3 separate regions of the Homo sapiens genome follow, and regions 1 and 3 are each linked to region 2. The links are contacts of gene promoters, found by promoter capture Hi-C in blood cells and fetal thymus (Javierre and others, 2016). All regions are on one chromosome and are shown on one strand. The core of a region is centred on a gene start or on the middle of the fragment in contact, and the rest is flanking DNA. Distances in the headings are between cores, read along the strand shown.

Region 1 (3,389 bases), core at 49-2,548, 340 kb before region 2:
CAGAGTGTAGGCAAGGGCTGTGACTGCCTCAGGTAATTGGGTGATTTTGCTCCAGCAAGAGGAGAGGAAGCATGTGAGTGCCACACTGAACCTTTCAGAAACAGCCGTGGGGTCGGGGGTGCTTGGGCCAGGCCAGGATACTTGGTGTTAAGCCTGCTCTCTCTTCAGTGCCCCGACTCGGCTTGCAAGCAGGACCTGCTGGCCTACCTGCAACGCATCGCCCTCTACTGCCACCAGCTGAACATCTGCAGCAAGGTCAAGGCCGAGGTGCAGAATCTCGGCGGGGAGCTTGTTGTCTCTGGGGTAAGCATTAGCTGAACAAAAAGAGGGCCAGTGGGAACGTGCTGACCCTTGTCAGAAATGAAAGTCACCTCCTATCCGCATAAACACCTGCCCTGGGAAAGTGTGCTGTGCAGAAACTCCAAGTCCTGTCCCAGTCTCTGGAGACCAAGGTCTGTCCATCATCTGTTCCCTGTAGAACTGTGACACCTGCGGGGCACTGCAAGGGCTGAAAGGCTGGCCTCCTCCCCTTTGCTGGCCACTCACTGGGTAGGAATTTTTAAAAATCTTCCTTGGGACCGGGCGTGGTGGCAGGTACCTGTAAGTCCCAGCTACTTGGGAGGCTGAGACACAATAATTACTTGAGCCTGGGAGATGGAGGTTGCAGTGAGCCGAGATGGCACCACTGCACTCCCGTCTGGGCAACAGAACAAGACTGTCTCAAAACAAAACGAAACAACAAAACAAAACAAAACTTCCTTTTCTTCCCCCAGAGAGGAATTAAGAGTAGACATAGATAGGGTGTTTTCTCAAAAGCCCTTCACTCCTCAGAGTGCTTGGGTAGCGTCTCTTTCTTTTTACCACATCACAGTTCTGAGGCCTTTCTCACCTAGGGCAGGGGAAAGAAGAGGTTTGCTGAGTGGATTGGGGTCCACCGAGCCTCCATGGCTTCTCTTAATCCCACTGAATTTCCTTTAAAAGAAACACTTCTTATATTGAACATATTGAGACCATTTGCTCATCTGCTTTGCCATAAACATCCCTGTCTCGATTCCTGCTTCTCCTCCCCCACGTGCTTACAGCTCTGGGATCACTTACAGTGACTTCCAGTTGGTTTGAGTGAATAAACACTTGCTGAGGGGTGGGGGTGAGCAAGGCGAGGTTGCCTCATGTCTTCTCCAAAGGGTCTGAGGGCAGGCGCTTCCAGGCTATTTAGATAAGAGCAGCCGTTGAGGGTGTTCTTCAGGAACAGGCTGCTGCCCAATCCTCTGCGACCTGCCCAGGCCCTGGTCTTGCAGAGGAGTAGGGGGCTCCCCTTCAAGCACAGCCCACCTGTGTCCACGAGGCTGGAGGTCAGGCCGGTGCTTCTTACCACCCCTGTCTGCCTCGTAGGTGGACAGCGCCATGTCCCTGATCCAGGCAGCCAAGAACTTGATGAATGCTGTGGTGCAGACAGTGAAGGCATCCTACGTCGCCTCTACCAAATACCAAAAGTCACAGGGTATGGCTTCCCTCAACCTTCCTGCTGTGTCATGGAAGATGAAGGCACCAGAGAAAAAGCCATTGGTGAAGAGAGAGAAACAGGATGAGACACAGACCAAGATTAAACGGGCATCTCAGAAGAAGCACGTGAACCCGGTGCAGGCCCTCAGCGAGTTCAAAGCTATGGACAGCATCTAAGTCTGCCCAGGCCGGCCGCCCCCACCCCTCGGGGCTCCTGAATATCAGTCACTGTTCGTCACTCAAATGAATTTGCTAAATACAACACTGATACTAGATTCCACAGGGAAATGGGCAGACTGAACCAGTCCAGGTGGTGAATTTTCCAAGAACATAGTTTAAGTTGATTAAAAATGCTTTTAGAATGCAGGAGCCTACTTCTAGCTGTATTTTTTGTATGCTTAAATAAAAATAAAAATTCATAACCAAAGAGAATCCCACATTAGCTTGTTAGTAATGCTCTGACCAAGCCGAGATGCCCATTCTCTTAGTGATGGCGGCGTTAGGGTTTGAGAGAAGGGAATTTGGCTCAACTTCAGTTGAGAGGGTGCAGTCCAGACAGCTTGACTGCTTTTAAATGACCAAAGATGACCTGTGGTAAGCAACCTGGGCATCTTAGGAAGCAGTCCCTGGAGAAGGCATGTTCCCAGAAAGGTCTCTGGAGGGACAAACTCACTCAGTAAAACATAATGTATCATGAAGAAAACTGATTCTCTATGACATGAAATGAAAATTTTAATGCATTGTTATAATTACTAATGTACGCTGCTGCAGGACATTAATAAAGTTGCTTTTTTAGGCTACAGTGTCTCGATGCCATAATCAGAACACACTTTTTTTCCTCTTTCTCCCAGCTTCAAATGCAAATTCATCATTGGGCTCACTTCTAATAACTGCAGTGTTTCCCGCCTTGGGCTTGCAGCAGAAAAACCTGACAACATAGTGTTTGCTAAGGCAGTAATTTAGACTTTACCTTATTTGTGATTACTGTAGTGATTGATTGATTGATTACTATTAACTACAAGGTATAATTTACTATCACCTTATTTAAATTTTATGAATTAATTTGAATGTTTTTTACACTAACTAACTTTTCCCAATAAAGTCCACTATGAAACCACGACATCCAAGAGCCCAAAGTCGTCTTCTCTGCCTTCAAGTCATAGATTTGCCCGCAGTATCTGTGGTGCTCTGGGCCCTCCCGGTGTCCGTCTCTTCCAGGATGGGGATGCCCGGGAGGGAAACTGTCTGTGGCTCTAGGCTGCACGGCTCGTGCCAACCCATCAGGGAGGGCCATGCCCGTTGTCCTATTGAGTGCCCCACCCTGCACCCCCACCTTGGGAATTCACATGTCCATTCCTTGAGGTTCATGTCAACCTCGGAGGCATCCCTGTCTTCATTATAGCTGACCCCTCTCCTGCGTCCTTCTGTCAGCATATCCCTTCTGCATCCTTCCCGTCACACATACATACCAAGCTATGATGATTGATTGATAGTGGCCTTCGAGATGAAAACCATCCTTAACCCCATGATCCTTCCCAGCTGGCATCCCCACCCTAAGCAAGGTTCCCTAAAGAGAAGCTTGTTGACATTTTCTCCCCTTCCTCACTTACAGTCAGCTGTCACCTTGCTCCCTCCACCTCCCCTCGTCAAGGTGACTGCCTTCCACTGCCAGCCACACTGGCAATTGTCTTGAGACCTCACTGTGCAAGCGGCCTGGGGGCGTGGCGGGGAGGAGGAGGAGGACAAGGACTCCTGAACGCTGCTCACTCGGCTTCCAGGACACCCCGCTCAGGTTCTGCCTGCCTTACTGGGGGCTCCTTCTCCTTTCCTGGGGCTGAGAGGTTGTGTCTGTGCCCACTCTCCTGAGCTCAGCCAGAATCTCGCAT
Region 2 (2,954 bases), core at 445-2,944:
TGAAAATATGGCTTACCTCACAGCCTTATTTATAATGGCTGGCCTTCCACATAAATCCTGCCTTCTACCTGGACTAATCTGAATCCAGTCATCACCAGATTATTGGTCCCTCTCTCCCCAAAGGTCTGCATAGCTCCCTGTCCTCAGTTACTTCTTGTCTCTTCTCTGAAAGCACACATGCACATTCACACACACACATACACACACACACACACACACACACACACACCCTATCTTTCCTTTTCATGAATCTTCAGGGTAGCTCTGCCCTCTCCACTTTGTGTGTTTGGAAGGAAAGAAAGCGAAATATATGAGATGCCAATGCAATTTCTCCTTTAGCAGAGCTCGGTAGGACAATTACCCACCCAATCTGCCTGGTTTTATAGCTCTCATAACCTTCCTTTATGAACACGCTGTGACAGCCGGATGTGGGCATTGATTATGGCAGCAGTCTTCAGCCACATTCCTATTTAACTGCAAAGCAGAGCTCCTGCCTACCAGCCCAGCACTGGTCATGTGACTTTTTAAATTACTGTATTTATGTAAGCCTTTTCCCAACCAGAGCCTATGTCCAACTGCATCAAAACTGGGGAGGATTTGAGCTTGCCACTTCCCCTCCAGTGGCTCTTTGGCCCTACAGCCTAGGGTCTCTTGCTGGAATCAAACTGGGGCTCTGGGCTTTCTTAGGAGAGGTCTGCAAGAGTTGGGGTGCACAAGAAGCATACCTTTTTCATTATGAAAGAGCTGAGGAAATAGACAATGAAACATGTTGGCAGATGCCAAGGGCAGTGGCTTGGTTCCCAGGGGTTCACCTGGCAATGGTGCCAGGTGCAAGAGATCAGCAAAACTTACAGGATTGGTTGTTGTTGTTGGGGGGCGGGTGTCGGAAAGGAATTTGGGGGAATTAGAGAATGGAGTTGGGAATCACTGCTTGTAGGCCTTCCACTCTGGACCCCAGCAGAATCATATGGACTCTAGCCACTGGGAGAGGGAAGTTTTAGTGTTCCAAAGAAATCCTGGTAGCCTTGCAGGCAGTCTGTCCTGACCAAGGACTCTGCCTGACTGTGCCATGGTGCAGGGCAAGTCTAGCAGAGAAAGCCAGTGTTCTTCAGTTACTGCAGCTCGGCGAAGAATCCCACTGCAGGGCACTAGGGAGGCCGGTCCTGCAGAGGTCAGCAGTAGGAGTGACTGGCTTAATCTATTCGAAAACCTCCTGGAAAGATCCCGAAGACCGTGGACCAAGGTGACCTGCGTGGGTGAGCGATCCATTAGCCGAATGACAGCGCTGCCGCAGAAAGCCAGAAAAAGGATATGCGTGGGAAGCGCAAAAGCGTGGGCTGGGCCTGCAGCAACGGAAAGGCGCCACGCTCGTGAGCGGAACCAGCGTTCCGGGGGCGCTCAGTGTGGGCAGGCAGGAAGCCTGGCTCCACTAGGACACACAGATTCTCTCCTGAGCAGCTGCGAACTATGCGCCCCTTCTACCCTTAAGAGATGGGATGGGAGTCCAACAAACCCAGCCATTGCTCAGACCCCAGCCCTTCTCTCCTCTAAGAAGCAGGTTCACCTCTGCCACCGCACTCGCATTTTTTTTTTTTTTTAAAGCCCGGCCTTTCCTAGGCGGGGTCAAGGGCCCCGCCCACCGAAGCCACGCCCAGTAGCCGCCCCGGGGCGGGGTTCCCCTCGGCTCCCGGCTGCCCTTTCCCCTCCGGCCTCTGCCGGTGCTGCTGCGCCCTGCGGAGCTCCGAACACGTGCGCGTGAGTAAGGACCCAGAGGGGAGAGTCCTTGGAGGTTTCCCAGCCTGGGGAAAGAAGCAGTGCAGGGTGGCTTCTGCCGGGGCACGGGACGAAATTGGGGTTCGTCCCCTCGTGATCCCGAGCTTGGAGGGCATCTGAAAGAGACTTGGGCCTCGGAGTCGTCCCCTGTTTTTCTACCATCCCTCTTCCCTCTTCTCCCTAGGGAGTCCCATAGAGCCTGACTCCGAGAGCCTCGATCTCCCAGGGCCAGAGGCAGGGACTTTGGAAGGTTTGTGAGGAACAAATGTCCGGTGGAACTGAGTCAGCCCCTTTAACCCGAGCCTTGAAAGGGGCAGGCTATTTTTAGATCTGTTTTTAGACCCAGCGAACAATGAACCCTCTCTACTCATTTTCCTGTTCCTCTAAATTATTTGGAGGAAGTCAGGAGTGAAATTTGGGGATGGCTGGAAAAAGGTATGATCTTAGCCTTACATAAATTATAATGGTGACTGTGAGGCCGGGCGCGTGGCTCACGCCTGTAATCTCAGCACTTTGGGAGGCCGAGGCGGGCGGATGACGAGGTCAAGAGAAGAAGACCATCCTGGCCAACATGGTGAAACCCCGTCTCTACTAAAAATACAAAACTTAGCTGGGCGTGGTGTCGCACGCCTGAAGTCGGGAGGCTGAGGCAGGAGAATCGCTTGAACCCGGGAGGCAGAGATTGCAGTGAGCCGAGATAGCACCACTGCATTCCAACCTGGTAACAGAGCAAGACTCCGTCTAAAAAAAAATGGTGACTGTGTAGGAATATTTATTATCATTTGTGCAAACATTTTGGTTATTTTTATTTTTTTTAACGGAGTCTTGCTCTGTTGCCCAGGCTGGAGTGCAGTAGGGCGATCTCGGCTCACTGCAACCTCCGCCTCCTGGGTTCATGCCATTCTCCTGCCTCAGCATCCCGAGTAACAGGGACTACAGGTGCCCGCCACCACGCCCGGCTAATTTTTTTTTTTTTTTTTTTTTTTTTTTTGTATTTTTAGTAGAGACGGGGTTTCACCGTGTTAGCCAGTATGGTCTCGATCTCCTGAACTCGTGATCCGCCAGCCTCAGCCTCCCAAAGTGCTGGGATTACAGGCGTGAGCCACCGCGCCCGGCCTAACATTTTCGTTATTGCTTTTAATCAGTAGTTGAGGTCTTGGCACGACTACTGCCTCCAATTC
Region 3 (3,123 bases), core at 156-2,655, 430 kb before region 2:
TGGTCTTGAACTCCTGGCCTCAGGTGATCCACCCTCCTCGGCCTCTCAAAGTGCTGGGATTACAGGCGCGAGCCACTGCGCCTGGCCCAAGGGTACTGGGTTTCTTTAGGAGATGATAAAATGCTCTAAAATTGACTGTAGTAATGGTTGTACATATCTGTGAATAAACCAAAAAAACATTAAATTGTACACTATCAATGGGTGAATTTTAGGTGACCTATATCAGTATATAATCTGTATCAGTAGATAATTATCTTATATATTTGTAAAATTATTTAAAGATATTTACATGCGTTTCACATGTCAGTTTGCTAATGATGTGATATGTATTTTAAATTATATTTCCTGTAGGAGTTCAGGCAATTTGTTCATCTTACATGAAGTAAAGAGTATTTTTCCCATTTTGAAACACGGCCTGTGTCTGTTATTGCCACCAGAATTACATGGTCTACATTAAATCCTATATTGTGTACACTGTTGACCTCTTTAATCTTCTGACTTTGTATGGGACAAACTAATGGCCTACAATTTTCTGTGACTATTTCATTTAAATTATACAAATGTTGAATGAAGGATTGCTGAATTAAAAATAGTTAAAAAAAAACCCCTCAAATTATACTGAACAGGTGTCATTTCAAGCTGAGTGTTTTTCATTTGGGGGCAGGGTGTCTTCTCTCTGAAAAAGTGTTAGATCTCTACATTATGTACATTGTTAGCCCTTAAAGATTTTTGAATGGTTTGGATTATTAGAAGATTCTGCATATAATCACCTAGAATTTGATTATACAGCTCTGAGAACTATGAAAAGGAACTAATTTTTCTATTAATTACATGTTTGGATTATTATTTGCAGTCAGAGCTTTGGGGTTGGGTATTTTGGTTGAAATATTGGCACTCTTAAATACATGGTAGTATCTGAAAGCTTTGTTCTAGGCCCACTTGAAGGAATTGCAAAAAAAGATGTAGCAGAAGTTTTAAGTGAAGTGGTTTGTTTTAGCAACATTAACTTATTTACTTAAAAATAGGTTTTTACTTTTTTGCTTCTATTGGGTAGTACTTGTAGTTCAACAGCATGGATTTTCACCTTTTGGAGGGAAGAGGAGACTGACAACATTCCTTTTTAAAGCCGGCGTAGTCCCTCCCTCCCTGTCTCCTTCCCTGTCTCCCTCCCTCTGTTTTTTTAGAGATAGGGGTCTGGTTACATTGTCCAAGCTGGTCTCGAACTACTGGGCTCAAGTGATCCTCCTGCCTCAGCCTCCCAGAGTGCTGAGATTAGAGGCATGAGTGGCAGGCCGATGTCATAATTTCTTAGTCAAAGTATTAGTTGAAGAATTCAAATATAATGTCCCCTGTCCACTTTTTATTGTTGCTTTATTCGGGGGATATTTACTTTCCTTTTGAAAAGAAAATTCTTGAAGAGAAACCTGATGGTGGGATTTCAGGCACTGTGGCAGGAAGTAAGAAAGATGTGTTACGGTAGAGGTGGTCACCCTTAGATCAGTGTGGGCAGTTGCTTGTGGGGCATATTTTGGGGGAGGGGCATTTCTCTCTAAATTGATGTACTAGGAGATAGAGCATATTTTTGCTGCCCCAAGTAAACTTTTGATGCATTACAAAAAGGAAACATTTGGGCAACTCCCATTTCTGTTGCTTTGGAGCTTAATAGTCATTAAGTTTGTGTTTCTTTATGTGGTACTGAGTAAAAGCTGAAAGTAGCAGAGATTGTATAGGCCAGTATATCTTTTGTTAGTTTTGAACTTGTTGGGAGCACTTATAATTACCTGTGTTTCTAGAGATAAATCAAGTGGCACCTCTGTTTCTTTAAGTTCTTCTTTACCTAGCTGAGATTCAGGGGTCTTGCTTCTTGGGTAATAAATTCTACCTAATTTGAAGCTTTGCTTTCCTTCCAGAGATGTTTGAACTACATTTACTAATGCATATATGCTGTTGGCATAAAGATAAATTTGTTATTGAAGGGATTTTCTATGGAGAGACTGTTCTAGTCTTGACAGCTGCACTGAGCATGAAAAGTTACCTAAGCTTTCCCAAGTCTATGTTTCCTCAACTGGGAACTGGGGATGATAATGGTGCCTATGCACCCATCATGGTTGCAAGTGTATAGAAAAGAGTCATGTAAGGCACAACCACTGCTGTTAATACTAGTGTTACTATTAACATTGCTATAACTAATAATTTATATTTGAATTGTTCACACTTTAAGTCCTCTTTTTTTTGTTTGTTTGTTTTTTTAGCTCTTCTGATTTCCAGTAGTTTCATAGAGCCATTGCATTTATCATTCTCCTCCAAGAGCTTAGTTCTCTCTCTGCTCCCCCTTTTCTTCTCTCTTCTTTTACAGTCATGGTCAAATACATTTGGAGAATTTTCCCTTTTACATGTGTATTCTGATAATAATGTCTAAAGACTGTGTCCCTGTTGACTGTGCTGCATAGCTTATTTTATTGCTCTCCATTTGTCTTAACTGTCTTGCCTGAAGTTGGTAGCTTTATTCCTAGATTCATAATATGCTCTCTTTACTATTAAAATGTGCATTTTGATTGGGCCTGGCATACTTTTTTTTGAGATAGAGTCTCTCTCTGTCGCCCAGGCTGGAGTGCAGTGGCGTGAGCTTGGTTCACTGCAACCTCCACTTCCTGGGTTCAAGTGATTTCCTGCCTCAGCCTCCTGAGTAGCTGGGATTACAGGTATGCACCATCATACCCAGCTAATTTTTGTATTTTTAGTAGAGACAAGGTTTCACCATGTTGGTCAGACTGGTCTCGAACTCCTGACCTCATGATATGCCTGCCTCGGCCTCCCAAATTGCTGGGATTACAGGCGTGAGCCACCTTGCCCTGCCTGGCATACTTCTTTATTGTTAATTCTGAGTTATCTGGCATGGGGAAGCATGGCTCTGATCGTCAGTGTTCATTCTCTGAATTGAGTTTTGTATAGGCATCTCTGTATAAAATTTCTTGATTATTCTTTCCTACTGGTTTTGGCTTTATTTGGTGATTGCATTTGAAGTAGACTGTTTATTTGAATACTGTAACTATTCATGTAGTTTCATGTTCATTTTTTATAAGTTGTATTTCCTCTCTATTTTTTTTTAAAATTAGCACTAGA

What was found. The method cuts DNA at HindIII sites, captures the fragments that hold promoters and counts their contacts. A CHiCAGO score of 5 or more calls a contact.
Region 1: a fragment that was not itself captured here is called in contact with the fragment with the promoter of SNHG4 in region 2 in 1 of 17 cell types (endothelial precursors); the score reaches 5.7 in endothelial precursors.
Region 3: a contact is called between a fragment that was not itself captured here and the fragment with the promoter of SNHG4 in region 2, in 2 of 17 cell types (endothelial precursors and megakaryocytes). The highest score is 5.8, in endothelial precursors.

What each region holds. Positions count from the first base shown.
Region 1 is chr5:138,932,410-138,935,798 of GRCh38, forward strand. CTNNA1 (catenin alpha 1) reads left to right here. Exons shown (of 18, transcript NM_001903.5): 17 at 169-303; 18 at 1,393-2,625. The coding sequence ends at 1,680. Among named protein-coding and RNA genes, the nearest start is that of LRRTM2, 59 kb to the left of the region's middle. The HindIII fragment of the contact is 3,561 bases long and covers 1-3,079 here.
Region 2 is chr5:139,272,407-139,275,360 of GRCh38, forward strand. It overlaps SNHG4 (small nucleolar RNA host gene 4), which reads left to right and starts at 1,695. Exons shown (of 7, transcript NR_182757.1): 1 at 1,695-1,755; 2 at 1,958-2,208. It overlaps LOC124901081 (a long non-coding RNA gene), which reads right to left. Exons shown (of 4, transcript XR_007058956.1): 4 at 661-1,248. It also overlaps a transcript of MATR3 not described here. RefSeq lists an enhancer at 1,049-1,398 and a silencer at 1,689-1,768. The HindIII fragment of the contact is 4,492 bases long and covers 1-2,954 here.
Region 3 is chr5:138,846,165-138,849,287 of GRCh38, forward strand. All of the region lies in intron 7 of CTNNA1 (catenin alpha 1), which reads left to right. Among named protein-coding and RNA genes, the nearest start is that of LRRTM2, 28 kb to the right of the region's middle. The HindIII fragment of the contact is 971 bases long and covers 921-1,891 here.